Linked DNA regions of Homo sapiens: region 2 is linked to region 1. The links are contacts of gene promoters, found by promoter capture Hi-C in human tissues and cell types (Jung and others, 2019). All regions are on one chromosome and are shown on one strand. The core of a region is centred on a gene start or on the middle of the fragment in contact, and the rest is flanking DNA. Distances in the headings are between cores, read along the strand shown.

Region 1 (3,431 bases), core at 540-3,039:
CAAAATATCTGGAATGCCCAAACGTGCTGTCATTGCTCAGGACAGAATAATCTATTCAAAACCAGCAGGGAACACGTGAGGAGGCCTCATTTACTTCAGTGTGTTTCCCCACATATGCATCATTTGAGAATGTCAGATCACTTTCACGTATATAGTACATAATCACTGATGATCTGGGAAATCCACAAGGCCACAAAGTTGATACATACTCTGATCTAGAGGGGGAAAAAAATCGAGAAAGCCGGAAGTTTCCCGTTTTCCAAGAAACTGAAGACATTCTTACCTTTCTGTACACCAGCATGTTGGGTGATTCATCGGCCACCCCGTTGCTGGTCTGCCCATAATTATTCCCCTGGGCCATGTCACCCAAAACTTGGTCCACTCTCAAGATACAAGAATTATCAGTGTGCCCTGCAAAGGGTCAGAGAGACTTCAGTGAGATCCCAGTGGGACTCCCCTGATTCATCATCATCATTCACAGCACCCACCCCACATGGCGCGTTCTTACAAACTGGGGCTGGCTGGAGAAAGTGACACAGGACATGGATTTTTTAAAAAGTGAGTTGACACCTACAATAACCTCAAGGAATTGTAAGAAATTACAATCTTCCAGGTAGAAATAGCCATTTGGTTATTGTTTTAGCTGACTTCATTTTCTGGATACTCATTTTGAGAAGTGTTTGATGCTCACCCTAAAAACTCGTGGGTAGCATTTTCCTAGTACAGAGTTCTCTTCTCTCCCAATACTTGCATCTGAACTTGGTGATGTTTTCCCCAAAGGGTGGAAAGGCAACACCTGGGGGATGCGGTGGGGGAGTGGGGGGCGGGTTAGCACACTTTCTCCTAGGTATCTGTCTAGTGTCCCCACCTGCAGCCCATCAGAGAGGCCCATTCCCGGTGTCATTCTCCAGCGCACGGGCTTCCTCTCTATTCCCCCGGGTCTCCCACACAGAGCCGGAGTATATGCTTCGCCTACTTTCACCTGCCTGCGCTGCCAGCCACCGGCTGCTCTCCTTTCTCCCCACTTCGCTTCGGAAGTCCGGAGGTAATCCTGCCTAATTTTTGCAAGAAGACACCAGAATATGTCCCGGCAACAAGAACTAGTGGGAGGTCAAGCCTTCAGGCCATTTTACCCGGGTCACCGTGGGTAAAAGCCTAACTGCAGAAGCCTCCAGAGCAACCAGCCAAAGAGGAGAAAACAGGCAAGCCCCTGCTCCCCTTGCTCGCTCTCACGGCAGCAGCAAATGGCAGGCGAGCCTGTGCCCCGCGCCGCGGCGGCCGCCGGAGCCGGGCAGCAGTTTCAGCACCGTGGACCGCGGGGTGCGCGCGGCGCCCGTAGCCCAGCCCCGGCGCGGGGCTCCCGGGGGCGGCCGCCCTGCGCCCGCGGACGCTCCCGCTGCGCAGAGCGAGGGCTGGGTGCGGGCCGGGGGCCGGGAGGGCTCTGGGTGGCGCTGCCTCCTCCCCGCCCGCCTTCCCTATTTACCTCCTCCGCCAAGGTCACGGCCCCGCGGCGTCTCCCCTCCCGGGCGGGCTGGGTGCAGGCGGTGTCAGCTGGCGGCAAGCGGAGCAGCGAGGCAGGGTAGCTTCATCACACTCGCGGCGGATGCGGATTCCGCGCCGCCCCGGCTCTAGCTGCTCAGGCGACCGCCACCCTCGCCTCGCCGCCGCCCGTGCACAGGCGGCTCCGGCAGCCGCCACTCGCGCCCGCTCCCCTGGGCCGCCTCGCTGGCTCTCTCCCTCCTCCGCTTCTTCTCCCGGGGACTGGGACCAGCCGAGCGCGCGCGGGAGTCGAGACGCCCGGCCCGTGCGCGCGACTGGGAGGAGGGAGGAGGGGACAGTCACGTGGGACAGGGGCGTCCGAAGGTGCCGGCTCGGATGGGCTCGGCTCGGCCGCCGCCACACCGCCCGGGCCTCCCGGGCCTCCCCGGCCTCCCGCCCTCGCGCCCCTCGGGAGGCTGTAGTCCTGCCCCCGGCGCGGCCAGCCCGCGCTCCCGCACACCCCGCCCGCTCGCCCGCGCGTGTGTACGTGCGCCGGAGGCCTGGAGAGACCGGAGTTTAACGCCCAGTGTAAGCCGGAAAGGGAGGAAGGCTGTGCGATGGGTGGGTGGGTGGTAGGTGGGTGGGTGGTCTAGTGAATGGATGGACAGATGGACGGACGGATGCACGGATGAATGGATGGATGGAGCCCCGTGCAAACCAAGGTTTCATCACGTGCCTAACGACTCCGCTGAAAGTCCCAGGGAAGCAGATGATTTATTATTATTATTATTATTATTATTATTATTATTATTATTATTATTATTATGCTTAAATAACAGAGTAGAGAGATATTGAGACACCCTAGGAATGAAGGAAATGGCCAGGACCAAATGAATCATTCATCCCCGTTTGCCTGCGGTTTTCACAGCTTCTTCCTAAGTTGGAGAAATGGGAAACGATTTGAAAGCTGCCAACCGGAGGTGAAAATCTTGCCACTTGTGAAACTGAAGGAACATCCCCAAGGCCTGGCTTCTCCTTTTAACAGAAGGTGCTCAGAGGAACTTTCCTCTTGCCCACTGCCCTCATCCTCTAGCAATTTTCAAAGAGCTTCTGAGGTGCTGATCCTCCTAGCTATAGTCTTCGTACTGCTGCCACAAATTCTTCTGTAAGGATTAGAATGACATAAAGGAGACAGATCACTTTTGTCTCGGTGGTAGTAAAGCAACCTGTGCCTCTGGCTTTCAGGGGGAAGGGCTGGGCCGCTGTAAATCTAGTTTTCCTTCCTCTCCTGGGCCAGCTGTGGAGGAGAGGGAGGGAGAGAAGGAGAAGATAATCAAGATCAGCTGTAAATCTAGTTTTCCTTCCTCTACTGGGCCAGGTGTGGAGGAGAGGGAGGGACAGAAGGAGAAGATAATCAAGGTCAGCCTTTCCTGACCCCTTGGTCTAAGCAGACTAGACCTTATTGGAGATAACACTTCTACTCAAACAGGGGTCCATGTGGACCAATGTATTACCCCAGCCCCATGCAGGTCTTGTCAGGTTTCTCTCAAGGAACAAATATTTATCTAACCTAGCCCCTGTTCCAAGTACTACAGGAGAAATATCATTGTCCCAAACTACACACACTCTAGTCTGACCTGTCTCCCACTCCAACTCCCCACATCTTTCCACTGTAGCCTCTGGAACTTAGAATCTTCTTCAGCAAAATTCTCTTCGTTTTCGACTTCTCGAAATATTTCTTTAACGTTTTTGCTCTCGCTGAAATCTACTTATCCCTCCTTTAACCCCTCTCTCTTCCCTCTTGTTCAGTCTGCTCCTGAGAAGTTGATGTGACTTGCATGACTTGGATTAATAAATTTGCAAATACAACTGGGTATGCTCACTCAGTTTGACCATTTTCCTCTTAAGAGAGAACCGCCTGAAGGAAGCAGTCTTCCTCCTCCTTTGCATCT
Region 2 (3,431 bases), core at 683-3,182, 410 kb before region 1:
TCTCTTCACCCACACAGCTAAAGTTCAACAATAAACCTACTAAAAAATTCCAGCTTATTTTTTTGTTTGGATATTCAAGCCATGAGCAAGCTGAGAAACAAAAATCAATCTCCAAACACCTCTGATTAAGTGAACAGCCTAGAACAGCTTTGTTAAGCCTGATACCAACATAGGATGATTTCACCCCAAACTCTAAAGGAATGGTATTATCAACATCCTCGGATAGCGAAGAGAATTCTCCACAGCATAATTTGCTTTTGACCACAACGATTTCAAAAAGTTAACAGGATGAAAACCACAGTATAAAAGAGGCTTGTGGAACTCCAGGGGTGCAATCGGTTAGCTCACGGTGCTTATAAAAGAGGCTTGAGTACTTGAGTGTAAAGTACTCTATATTTACAATGTAATTTTAAAACTCAGTAATATTTTTCTTACCCAGAGGCTCAACTTCTTGCAGCCTCCTCTTCTTTTAAATACAGCTCATAATTTTGCAACGATTAATAAAATGCCTCTGAGTCAAGAAAGTAATTTAAAAACTTCACTGAATCCTGTATTTTTATCACTATCATGTTATTTACTCTTATTTATGTGCATGTATTAACATTTTTTTCATTTCCAACACAGTATAAGTATCAGTAGTGTGTGGGGAGAAATATTTTAAAAGAAAATCTAAAAAGAAAAAAGATGGCAGCTGATTATATTAAGGAAACAGAGATGCTAAAATGAAGACAAAGGTAAGTTACTTAATGATAAAATAACAGGTATTCATCAGGACAATTCTGAGCCATAAAAAGAAGATATGTTAGACTTGTTACTTTCTGTTTAAGAAGACATGGAAGTGGTCATTTTAGAAATCCTTCAAAATATTATGCTTTATTTTTTAGAACTGGCATTTGGAAAGGTAAGATTATTCATGTAGAAAAATCTCATATGCGGAACATTTTATTCTCCAACAAAACCAAGTAAAAATGGACTATTACCATATTTAGAAATTTCTGAAGTAAGTTTATTTTCTCAACAGTAGGAGTTAGTAAAAGAAGTACCTCAGCTTTCATCTTTTTAAAAAAAACATCATTTGCATGTAAGAAAAATCAAGTGCCGCTTTCTCAACAGCAATCATAATTCGGGATAGAGAAGTGAATAATAAGGTGACATAGAATAGATAAGCTAAAAGAGATTCTATTTGGGAGAAATAAAAACAGAATCATAATTTATATCAACATTGAGGAATGCAATAAGAAATTAATATAAGTAAACGCTATTTCCAAAAAAGGAGCAGAGTACAAAGGCTATGCCAGTCCCCTGCCTAGGTTCACATCCCGGGTCCCTCATTTGCTGGCTGTGTGACCTGAGCAAGAGACTTGGATTCTCTGGGCCTTGGTGCCCTCATCTGTAATCATCTGTAAGAAGTTGACAAAATAATAATGCCAAAGATTAGCAGTAAGGATCCATTGAGATAATATGCACAATGCACTTAAAACACAGTCTACCACACAGACATGCTCCTGAGATGAGAGTTATTATCAGTTGATACTTATGAAGTGTCACATTCAGGAGCACTTAATCTAGTTTAAGGGGCGATGGGAAACATTAGTAGCTAGTGTTGCTCTGGGTTTCCCAGTCATGTTAAACACTTCCAATTCAACTCTATTTTAAACGCCCCAGGTGATCAAACCAGAGTGTTTTGTGGGCTGAAATATGCCTATGTTTTTCCCTACAGCAAAGAACACTAACAAAATCCCAAAAAGAAATTAGGGACAAACTTATTATATATCACAGGGATAGCCACAGATTTCCAAAGGCGGCATGCTCCACACGCTAGGTTTACAAAACCATACTGTGAATACCAGATGCCAATGAGAGACCTGCCTGCTTTAGAGGAGGACTGATGTGAGGACACCCTGAACCTGACAGTAGAAGAATAACAGGGACAGAGAGAGCACGGGGACAGCAATCAGAATGGGAGATGAATTCTTAGGGAAGCATAATATTTGCCTAGGACTAAAAAAAGAAAATCGACATTAAAATAATAAAGCAATTGGCAGTGAGAGCAACAGATAATCATAAGTCAACGATCTTTTTTACACACACAGAGTAGACCAGTCTAGATGTCTAATGGCAGTTATGACATCTTAGGCATTCTGCATAGATGAAAAATCATGCTGAAATTTGAAAAAATGATCCATGTAATACTGGTGTGAATAACTGGTTTCAGATCTACATTATACAGCCTATATGATATTAGCATGTTCATTCCCCAGATTTAGATAGGTAGTTCCATCAGCCAATCCTTTAACAAGATTCTGTTATATTATATGTGTGTGTGTGTGTGTGTGTGTATATATATATATATATATATATATATATATATATATATATATATATATATGTTAGGTGCATAGAATAGTATTCAGATGAGATAAAAATCATGCTTACTTCATCTAAGTACAGTGTGAGGAAACCATCACAATGGCAAGGGCCAGGGCAGTAATAAATTACAGTGGAAAACAACATTCCATCTAAAATTCAGTATACATTCTGCAAAATTTCCATTAGTTAATCTGGCTGAATGAGCTGGAAGAAAGTAGGGCACTGAATTAACTTTTTAGTAGGCAGAGGAGTTTCTACAGCATGTATTTCTTCAAATCAGAGAGAGCACACACTGCCAAACAAGCACATGTGGAAATCATGGGAAAAAAAGGCTCAACTGCAAGTCATGGGGCTTAAATTCTAATCCTAGTGCCTGTAACTGCATGTCAGGAGTAAGTCACTTCCTTTCTTTTGTTTTGAGATGGAGTCTCACTTTGTCACCAGTCTGGAGTGCAGTGGCGCGATCTTCGCTCACTGCAACCTCCGCCTTCCAGGTTCAAGCGATTCTCCTGCCTCCGCCTCTCAAGTAGCTGGGACTACAGGCATGCGCCACCACGCCCGGCTAATTTTTGTATTTTAGTAGAGACAGGGTTTCACCATGTTGGGCAGGATGGTCTCTATCTCTTGACCTCGTGATCTGCCTGCCTCGGCCTTCCCAAGCATTGGGATTACAGGCGTGTGCCACGCATCCAGCCAAGTCACTTCCTTTCTTAGAGCTGGCATCTGTAAATGCAGCGGGGATCACTAAAGACTTTTTAGTTCTGAGTCCATGACAAGATGTGCAGTCAAAACACTAGCTAGAAGTTGTGGCAGAGCAGCCGCCATCCTTATTTTTGCCTCCTTGTGTCAAAGGGAAATGGATTTTTCTTTATTTCTCAGACATTCTTGCCATTGCCCATGTCCCAATACTCTAACACGAAAGAGAAAAATAGCCCAATACGAAATATAAAAGCTGATTTTAATTTCAGTTGCTTATAACTCAATCCTGATGATTCTCAAGGGCTGCTATAGTATAGAGTTTTTGTACACAGAGCAAATGAATGCTTATTCCAAATAGGAAC

What was found. Contacts are between HindIII fragments. The study calls those that stand out against the background at their distance.
Region 2: a contact is called between a fragment that was not itself captured here and the fragment with the promoter of RGS7 in region 1, in 1 of the 25 tissues and cell types used here (small bowel).

Annotation. Positions count from the first base shown.
Region 1 is chr1:241,355,416-241,358,846 of GRCh38, forward strand. It overlaps RGS7 (regulator of G protein signaling 7), which reads right to left and starts at 1,790. Exons shown (of 19, transcript NM_001364886.1): 1 at 1,484-1,790; 2 at 284-411. The coding sequence starts at 361. LOC124904601 (a long non-coding RNA gene) reads left to right here and starts at 1,837. Exons shown (of 2, transcript XR_007067052.1): 1 at 1,837-2,067; 2 at 2,408-3,431. RefSeq lists a silencer at 1,642-1,691. The HindIII fragment of the contact is 13,432 bases long and covers 1-3,431 here.
Region 2 is chr1:240,941,945-240,945,375 of GRCh38, forward strand. All of the region lies in intron 4 of RGS7 (regulator of G protein signaling 7), which reads right to left. Among named protein-coding and RNA genes, the nearest start is that of MIR3123, 190 kb to the right of the region's middle. The HindIII fragment of the contact is 5,456 bases long and covers 1-3,431 here.